Linked DNA regions of Homo sapiens: region 2 is linked to region 1. Evidence: promoter capture Hi-C in 16 types of primary human blood cells and fetal thymus (Javierre and others, 2016). All regions are on one chromosome and are shown on one strand. The core of a region is centred on a gene start or on the middle of the fragment in contact, and the rest is flanking DNA. Distances in the headings are between cores, read along the strand shown. Region 1 holds the start of CLDN19 (claudin 19). Region 2 overlaps CCDC30 (coiled-coil domain containing 30).

The links. The method cuts DNA at HindIII sites, captures the fragments that hold promoters and counts their contacts. A CHiCAGO score of 5 or more calls a contact.
Region 2: a contact is called between a fragment that was not itself captured here and the fragment with the promoter of CLDN19 in region 1, in 7 of 17 cell types (activated CD4 T cells, non-activated CD4 T cells, megakaryocytes and 4 more). The highest score is 7.5, in activated CD4 T cells.

What each region holds. Positions count from the first base shown.
Region 1 is chr1:42,737,832-42,742,784 of GRCh38, forward strand. CLDN19 (claudin 19) reads right to left here and starts at 2,405. Exons shown (of 5, transcript NM_148960.3): 1 at 2,010-2,405; 2 at 590-754; 3 at 398-482. The coding sequence starts at 2,232. RefSeq lists an enhancer at 3,762-4,364. The HindIII fragment of the contact is 4,341 bases long and covers 1,225-4,953 here.
Region 2 is chr1:42,588,879-42,593,831 of GRCh38, forward strand. It overlaps CCDC30 (coiled-coil domain containing 30), which reads left to right. Exons shown (of 21, transcript NM_001395517.1): 14 at 443-605. The region is part of intron 1 of LOC124904162 (a long non-coding RNA gene); the gene reads right to left. Among named protein-coding and RNA genes, the nearest start is that of PPIH, 67 kb to the right of the region's middle. The HindIII fragment of the contact is 4,786 bases long and covers 273-4,953 here.

The sequences.
Region 1 (4,953 bases), core at 1,155-3,654:
GCCACCATGCCCAGATATTTTTTGTATTTTTAATAGAGACGGGGTTTCACCATGTTGGCCAGGCTGGTCTTGAACTCCTGACCTCAGGTGATCCACCCATCTTGGCTTCCCAAAGTGCTGGGATTACAGGCGTGAGCCACTGCACCCAGCCAGAGCTGGGATTGAAACCCAGAGCCAGGGCACTTAGGTCCTTAGAGAGTCCTTGCTGCACCTGGGTGCCCATCACAGGCCTCCCGCCCCTATGGAGGGCCCCACCACACTCCTCCTGGCGCCCCCCTTTAAAGCTTCTTGGACAGCAGCTGGATCCTGTCCCCACTTCCCCCGCCAGGTGATCCAGTGGACAAAGGTCAGTGGCCCCAGAGGAGGTAAAGCAAAAGACCCAAGCCCTGGCACCCACCTGGCATTGACAGGTGTGCTTGGGTTGAAGAACTCCTGGGTCACCAGGGTGGCATACCACGAGACAGCAGTCAAAGTGCAGAGGCCTAAAGACAAAGCAGAGGGGCGCTCAGCTCTGCTCTGGCCCCCCGAGGCCACTGGGGCTGGGGCTGCCTGCCATGGTTGTGATTGTGCAGGAGTGAGGGGCACTCACCTGCCAGGATGAAGAGGGCTCCCCCGGCGATGGCAACACGGCCCTTGGCAATGGGGTTGCTGTCTCCCACCCGCGTACACTTCATGCCAACTACGCTGAGGACCATGGCCACGAAGCCCAGGAGCACGGCCACCACCATCAGGGCCCGCGCTGATTGGATGTGACCTAGGGTGGGCGGGATGACACTGAGTCGGGCTGGCGGGGATGGGGGTTGGGTCGGTGCCTGGGGTCGGTGGAAGGAGCCCAGCTTGAGAGGGGCTTGAGCAGGAGCTGGCCTGGGGGGTCAGACCACCTTCTGGCAGGTGCAGGATAGTGAGGAGTGACAGCCCGGGCATGAGGACAGGGTGTGGGGGTGAGAGTCCCCTTCACTGTCAACGCCATTCTCCACTCGCCCTTGCAGGCTTTTCCGGTAGTATGATTCACTCTGCTGTTGCTTTCTGGCCTGGGGACTCCCTCTTGGGCTTGGCCCATCCTCCCAAGCAGCTGAGGGCAGCTCCAGGGTCCCCTCAGGTTTGGTAGGTGGAAGAGCTGGGGGTATCTGAGGCCCAGCTCAACTCAGCCTGAGCCCCGCAGCAACCCCTCCCCAGCAGCCATTCAGACAACAGTCACTTTCCCCTCTGCCCATGGCAGCTGGAAGCTTGCCTCTTCACGGGTGCATGGGTCCATCCTGGGCCCTGGGGGGTGCTCAGGAGACCTGGGTCCCTCAGCGAGGCTAGATGACCTGCCTGAACTGACCTGCCTGAACTGGCACAATGGGGCTGGTTGAAGGCCGCTCTGCTCCCAGCTCCCATGGGGAGCAGATTGTCCCTGGGGGCTCCTGGGCAGATTGCAGGTGGATCACCTCCACCCCAGAGTTAGAACTTCGGCGGTGCCTGTCAGGCTCATCTCCACACCCCAGAAGGAGAGGGACTGCATGCAGACACACCTGTCTGTGCATGCATGTGCACGTGTGTGCGTGTGCATGCGTGTTTGCATGCATGTGCATGCACCCATATGCTGGCACACAGGCCTGGGAGCAGGACTAGGGAGCAGGTGTGCATCATACAGTGTGTGTCTGTCTACTGACTGTGGGGAGAAGTGGATGAAGGGTCTTAACTGAGTCTTTCAGAGTGCCACAGGTATTAGTATTCCCCTTTAGAGATGAGAACATCACAATGGGAAGAGGTTTGGTGACTAGTTCAAAGTTATAGTGACAGAGCAGGAATCTGGACCCACAGCCGCCAGACCCTAGAGCCCTCCCCTCCCACAGGGCAGCAGGCTGGCCTGGACCGTCAATGGGCACAGGGCAGTAGTGGGGGAATTGTAGAGCGGAGGCTGGAGGTTGGAGCCCAGCGCAGATAGCAGACTGTGAGGAAAACTTGCTCCAGACTCCCCTGCTGTTCCCACCTCCCATCTCCCACCCCGCCGGCCTGGGGCCTACCGTCCAGGGCGAGCAGCGAGTCGTAGAGCTTGCACTGCACTTGCCCAGTGCTCTGGGAGGCGCAGGACATCCAGAGCCCTTCATAGAGGCCCACGGCAGTGATGATGGCGTCGCCTGCGTAGGAAGACTGCTTCCACTGTGGCAGGGCTGTGCTAGCAATGATGCCCACCCAGCCACCCAGGGCCAAGAAGTAGCCCAGGAGCTGGAGGCCTGAGTTGGCCATGGCCCAGGAGAGAGGACCGAGGGTCCCAGGACTCAGAGCTGGGCCAGGGTGCCAGCAGGGGCTTTGGTCATGGCCAGGTGGGAGGAGCAGCTGGGCAGGGGGAGCAGCGAGAAGGAGGGTCAGAGGCAGAGAAGGAGAGGTGGTGCGGCGGCAGCGGCTGGAGCAAAGGCAGTGGCTCTGGACTCCAGAATGCAGGGGGAGGCCCAGGGGCTGGAAAAGGCCAGGGCCCGCCCACAGCAGCCGCCTAAGCCAGAGCAGGGTCCCCAGCAAAGCTCATGCCCAGCCCCCTGGGGGCGGAGGGCCGGCCCATGGCCCAGGTGGTGTCCCTGCCCCGCCCCGTTCCGCAGGGATAGGGAAGGGAGGGGCTGAGAGGAATGACCCAGCTGCCCTCTGGGCCTTTCCCCACAGGGAAACCCCTTTAGGAACCTGATTCGGGTGTCCTAAAATTCGGATAATCCCTAACCCAAACACCAGCCCTGGGAGGATGGACTTTGCTCTTGCAAGGCTGATCTAACCCTTGGGGTTTTCTGCCCTTTGACTTTAGGACAGAAGGGAAAGGAATGCCAGTTTGCAGCGGGTAAAACTAGAGTTAGATGTCAAGGATAACTTTTTGGCAGGGGCTCTGAAGCTGGATGTGGGGAGGCTGAGCTAGCGGTGGGGTGTTGGGAAGAGGGGTCATGGGTACCTGGGAGCTGTGTGTGCCAAAAATCAGGGAGGCCAGACCAGGAAATATGTACTGTGGGGTCTTTTTGAGATCTGAGGGGGACAGAAAAGGGGCCCTATCGAGGCTGGGCCAGCGCTGGCTGCCGGCCAGCAAGGGGCCTGGTGGGGAGCTGGGGAGACAGCCCCAACCTTCTGGCATCAGCCTGAAGGAAGGCGGATTGCTCAGCCCCTTAATCCCCTTGCTGGCTGGCTTAGTAGCTCCTGCTGGGACTGGAACACTGGGCCCTGGCCCCCAACTCTAGAGCAGCCTGGCGCGGAGCAGTGGCCTCTGCACATTCCCGGGGTTCAGGCTGCCCGCTCCGAGCACCCCCACCTCCCTCTTCTCTCTCCCAGTCTCTCTTGGTCTTCAGGAGTAGGGGAATGTTTAACTCTCTTCCACCTCATTAGCAATCCCCTCACGTTCAAGTGGGCCCCACTGCAGCGTGGGTGCAGAAGGAATGTCACAACCCTGCTTCCACTCCTGCCAGCCCCCCGCCGCCCCCTCCGTCCCCAACAGCCCACCCACCCTTCCTGGACTGCACTGGGGGAAGGCAGGGTCCTGCTGCAGACCCCTGCTGGCTTCCTCCCCCACAGCCCCAACCCCCCTCTGAAGGGACAAGTCCCCAGCCCGCTCTTGCATTCTTCACGTGGCTATGCAAACGAGAGGGTGCCAGGCGCTGAGCAGACAATGGCAGCCCTGTGTGCCCGCCCAGGGCGTAGGCCTCTGGTATGGCCTGCAGCTCTGGCCAGAGATGGGGGAGTGGTCTGCCATCTGAGGGTCAAGGGTGGGCACTGCTTGACCTGTGGTGGTGCACACTGGGACCCTCAGGCTCTCTGTGCTGGGAGGGTCAGAGCCACGTGGATCCGAGCACACACAGACCTGCTTCCTGGACGACCTGTGGGTCCCAAGACCAAATGGGGTCTAGGACAGTGGCAGAGAAGTAAGTCCTGAGCTCAGATTCTTCTACCACAATGACAAGACAGTAGGATTGAGGGGAGCCTCCTCCATCCTACTGGGGCCGCAATGGGCACCCTGTGACCAGTGCATTAATTTAAGCATGTGGGCCACTGTTGCAGGCAGCAGGCCTCCTAACAGTAAGGAGACCACGGCAGAGGGAGGTAATAGACCCCCAGCCAGGAAACAGCAGGAAGGGCTTTCCGCTTGAAACTGTGTGGTGCTGGCCCCTGTGGTCTCTCTCCCACACTCCTCCCTTTTTGAGGGAGGCACCAGGTCCAGATTGAAGGGGGCTGCGGGCAGTGACAAGATGCTCCCCAGGGGTGACCTGAATGACTGTGGTGCCTCAGGGTCCTCACTCTAAATGGGAGGTTTGCTTCATGGAGTTGTGGTGGTCCGTTAAAGTAAGCGATGTCTGGGGAGGGCAGGGGCCTGGTGCTGGGTAGCTGCTCCGCATATGCTCCTCCAAAGGCAAAGTCCTCCTTCTCTCCACGCTGGGCCTTGGCCCCTTTTCCCCGCCATCTGCAGGCGCTCTCTCTGTAGGGAAGATCCAGGGGTCATTCTGGTTTCAGGGGGACCTGGGTCAGGAGCCCAGAGGCCAGTCAGAAGCATGCCTCAGAGACCATGGGCTGCGGCCCCCTCCATTGACAATTTGAGGGCCAAAGAGAGAAAGGGAGCCACGGGTCCACAGGGCCACAGAGCCAGCAGGAGGCCTGCATGCTCCTCCATCCTGGGTGTTCCCAGAGCCTCTTCGTGATCCGGAACAGTGCTCTCCTCTTCCTCTGAAGTGCTTCTGTTTATCCCTTCTCTTTGTTATTTGAGGCTTTGAGTCTGTTCTACCAAAATATTCTCTCCTACCCTGACGGCCTTCCCTCATTCTTGTTCCAAAGCCTTTTGGAATTCAGATTCTGCTTCTGGAGCGGCATTCCTTAACCTGGCACAGCTTCTCCACCCAGGACACCTACCACTCCTGGTGCCCCCCCTTGCAGTCCAATGACTCCCAGACATGCGGGGAGAACAGGAAGGCTCAGGGTCACAGCCCAGCCTCCATTAAGAGCTCACTG
Region 2 (4,953 bases), core at 1,416-3,915, 150 kb before region 1:
AATGCAGGCTCATTTATGATTCATTTATAGCAGTGTTAATGTGTGCTTATTATTATCAATAGTGCTTGTAACTAACATTACCTTGAACCCAGAAGATGAAGGGCTCAACTCGTAAAGCAGTAAGGAAGAAAGAATATGGGATTCAGGATTCGAGCCCTACCTCCACTTTGTCTTAACTGTTCTCTCTACCACAACTTCCTCATCTCTGAAATAAGGACAACTACTTTTTCCTCATAGGGTCATTTTGATGAGTGAGTGAGAGAAGTAAGGAAAGCTTCTATCACAAAAGAGGTTCCCTGTGTTGGTCCCTTTAGCTTATAGACACATACCCTACTTCATTGAACCAAAAAAAAAAAAAATCCCTTGTGATGCCATAAAAATTTTAGGTCTGAATTTCATTTGCAATTCATGGTGTGATTTAATCTACATTAATTGCCCTCAGGAAACTTCTATATCAGAACGTAGATGAGTTACACAGGCAAGTGAGAACCTTACAAGATAAAGAAAATCTACTGGAAATGACCTGTTCTCAGCAACAATCCAGAATTCAGCAACAAGAGGCCCTACTTAAACAACTGGAAAATGAAAAAAGAAAATATGATGAGGTAAGAAAGTAAATAGACATGCTTCTCAGTTTTCCTATTCCCATTAGTAACAGCTAATTATTATTGAGTGCCTAGCACTTTACTAAACCTAATCCTTTAGTCAGGGTTCAGTCAGGAAAGTAGAATCTACTCTAGGTATTTCAAGCAAGAAGAGATTTAACACAGGGAATAAGAGCTTACAAAACAGTTGGAAGGGACCAGGGGAGAGTAGAGTCAGAAAGGACTGCTGCTAGCTTTCAATAAATCCAGAAGTTCAGAAATCACAGAGAAGCCACCTCCTGCAGCGTCAAAGTGGAGAATTTGCAGGAACTGTCCTGAAGCTCCTACAAATGTCTCATCTGTTGTCTGCCCTTTTATCCATCTGCTAGTGCTAAAGAACTGTTGGGGGGAAAGACAAACAAACCTGTTTCTTCTTTCTATACTCGTACCACTCTGAATACTTCACTTCTGATATAGTTTGGATGATTCTCCTCTCCAAATCTCTTGCTGAAATGTAATCCCCATCATTGGAGGTGGGGCTTAACAGGAGGTGGTTTTGTCATGGGGGTGGGTCCCTCATAAATGGCTTGATGCTGTCCTCACGATAATGAATTATTGCGAGATCTAGATGTTTAAAAGTGTGTGGCACCTCTCCGCTCTCTCTTGCTCCCACTATCACCGTGTGACATGTCTGCTCCCATTTCACCTACCACCATGATTGTTAGCTTCCTGAGTCCCTCACCAGAAGCTGACCAGATGCCGATACCATGCTTCCTGTATAGTCTGCATATCTGTAAGCCAATTAAACTTCTTTTCTTTATAAATTACCCAGTCTCGGGTATTTCTTTATAGCAGTGCAAGAACAGCTTGACACAGAAAATTGGTACCAAGAAGCGGAGCGTTACTAAAAAAGATACCTGAAAATGTGGAAGCAAGTTTGGAACTGGGTAACAGGCAGAGATTGGAAGAGTTTGGAGGGCTCAGAAGAAGGCAGGAGGACCAGGAGCAGTGGCTCACAACTGTAATCCCAGCGCTTGAGAGGCTGAGGTAGGAGGATTGCTTGAGGCCAGGAGTTCAAGACCAGCCTGGGCAACATAGTGAGCCCTTGTCTCAACAAAAAAATAATTAGCCAGATATGGTGGCATGGACCTGTAGTACCAGCTACTCAGGAGGCTGAGGTGGGAAGATCACTTGAGCTGGGAGGTCGGGGTTGCAATGAGCCATGATCATGCCACTACACTACAGCCTAGGTGACACAGCGAGACTCTGTCTCAAAAAAAAAAAGAGGATGAAAGTTTGTAACTTCTTAGAGACTGGTTAAATTGTTATGACCAAAATACTGATAGAAATATGGACAGTGAAGGCCAGCCTAGTGAGGTCTCAGATGGAAATAAGGAAGTTATTGGGAACTGGAATAAACGTCACTCATGTTACACCCTAGCAAAGAACTCCTGCATTGTGTTCATGTACCAAGGATCTGTGGAAGTTTGAATTTAAGAGTGGTAATTTAGGGTCTCTGGCAGAAGAAATTTCTAAGCAGCAAAGCATTCAAGATGTGGCCTGACTCCTTGTAACAACCTGTGATCAGATATGGGAGCAAAGGAATGACTTAAAGTTGGAACTTATATTCAAAAGGGAAGCAGAGCATAAAAATTCAGCAAATTTGCAGCCTGGCCATGTGGCAGAGAAAGAATCCCAGCAGGGTATGGAGCAACTACTTGCTAGAGAAACTAGCATGACTAAATGGGAGCCAAGTGCTAGTATCCAAGACAATGGGAAAAGGCCTCAAAGGCAATCTCAGAGAACTTGGAGACAGCCCCTACCATCACAGGTCCACAGACGTAGGAGGAAAGAATGGTTTAGGGGGCCAAGCACTGGGTACCACTGCTCTGCTCAGCCTCAGGACACTGCTCCCTGAATCCCAGCTACTACAGCTCCAGCTGTGGCTCAAAGGACCCCAGATACAGCTCAGGCTGCCTGTCCAGAGGATGCAAGCCATAAGCCTTGGTGGCTTCCATGTGGTACTAAACCTGTGGGCACATAGAATGCAAGAGTGAAGGAGGCTTGGCAGCTCCCACAAAGATTTCAGATGATGTGAGAGATAGCCTGGGTGCCCAGGCAGAACCCTGCCACAGGGGCAGAGCCCTCACAGAGAAGTTCTAATAGGGCAATGCTGAGGGGAAATGTGGGGTTGGAAGCCTCACACAGAGTCCCCACTGGGGCACTGCCTAGTGGAGCTATAAGAAGTGGGCCACTGCCCTCCAGACTCCAGAATGGTAGATCCACAGGCAGCTTGCATCCTGTACCTGGGAAAGCCTCAGACACCCAGCTCCAACCAGTGAGATCAGCCACAGGGGCTGCTGCCTGCAAAGCCACAGGAGAAGAGCTACCCAAGGCCTTGGGAGCCTACGCATTGCACCATTGTGCCCTGGATGTGGGACATGGAGTCAAGGGAGAGTATTTTGGAGCTTTAAGATTTAATGACTGCCCTGCTGAGATTTAGACTTGCATGGGGCCTATTGACTCTTTCTTTTGGCTAATTTCTCCCTTTTGGAATTGTGATGTTTACCTAATGCCTGTACTACCACTGTATCTTGGGAGTAAATGACTTATTTTGATTTTTACAGGCTCATAAGTGGAAGGAGATAAGTCTCAGAAGAGACTTAGGACTTTGGACTTGATGCTGGAATGAGTTAAGACTTTTGGGGACTATTGGTAGGGAATGATTGTATCTTGTAGTGTGAGAAAGACATGCAATTTGAGGGGTCATGGGTGGAATGATACGGTTTGGTTCTTTATCCCCTCCAAATCTCATCTTGAAATGTAATCCCCGTTGTTGGAGGTTGGGTCTGAGGGGAGTGTGTTTGGGTCATTGGAGTGCATCCCTCATTAATGGCCTGGTGCTGTCCTCATAATAGTGAGTGTGCTCTTCATGAGATCTGGTTGTTTGAAAGTATGTAGCCAGGCATGGTAGCTCATGCCTGTAATCCCGGCAGTTTGGGAGGCCAAGGCATTTGAGCTTGACCTTGAACTTGAGCTCAGGAGTTTGAGACCAGCCTTGGCAACATGGAGAAATCCATCTGTACAAAAAAATACAAAAATTAATTGGATGTGTTGGCATACACCTGTAGTCTCAGCTATTCAGGAGGCTGAGGTGGGGAAGATGGCTTGAACCTGGGAGGCGGAATTTGCAGTGAGCTGAGATCACGCCATTGCACTCCAGCCTGGACAACAAAGCCAGACCCTGTCTCAAAAAATAAATAAATAAATAAAACTTAAAATATAAATAAATAAAGTATATGACACCTCTCCCCATTCTCTTGCTCCTCTCACCATATGACATGTCTGCTCCCACTTCACCTACCATCATGATTGTGAGCTTCCTGAGGCCCTCACCAGAAGCTGAGCAGATGCTGGCACCACGCTTTCTGTATAGCCGGCAGAACCATGAGCCAATTAAACTTCTTTTCTCTATAAATTACCCAGTCTCAGGTATTCCTTTATAGCAATGCAAAAATGGCCAAATACAACTTCTGACACCAGTTATGTGAGTTTTTCCCCATACTAAGCAATTCTCCAATTCTTTGTGGACACCAACTGGATGTACAAAAATGTAAGTCAGTCTGACACTATCTACCTGAAGATAGCATCAGATCCCATGAGTTAAGCTCTCAGTCCCACAATACTGCCCCCATTCGAGATGCCAATTGCAAGTCCAGGTTTTTGCTTATGCTTCTGACCAACCAGTTATAAATCAGAGGTCCCCACAACCCTCTCCTTGGGTTTGATCTTTTTGTAGGATGGCTCACAGAATTCAGGAAAACAGTTTGCTTACTGGATTACTGGCTGATTATAAAAGGACACAACTCAGGAACAGCCAGATGGAAGAGATGCATAGGGCAAGGCATGTGGAAAGGGATGTGGAACTTCCATGACCTCTGATCACACCACCCTCCCAGGACCTCCACATATTCAGCAACCTAGAAGCTCCCTAAACCCTGTCCTTTTGGGGATTTATGAAGACTTCATTATGTAGGCATGATTGGTTAAATCATTAACTGTTAGTGATTAACTCAACCTTTAGTCCCTCTCCCTTCCTGGGAAGTCTGGATGAGCCTGAAAGTTCCAACCCTCTAATCATATAATGGTACCCCTGGCAACTTGCCTACATCCTGAGGCTGCCCCAGAGTCTCCCCACCCCTCTGCCATCAGTCTTCTCATTAGTTTACAAAAAAGACACTTACCACTTCGGAGATTCCAAGAGTTTTAGGAGCAGCGTGCCAGGAAATAGGACAAAGATCAAAATATGTATGTATTATACCACAGTAACACAAGAAAAATGACTTTTCCTTCCCTTATGCTTTCCAAA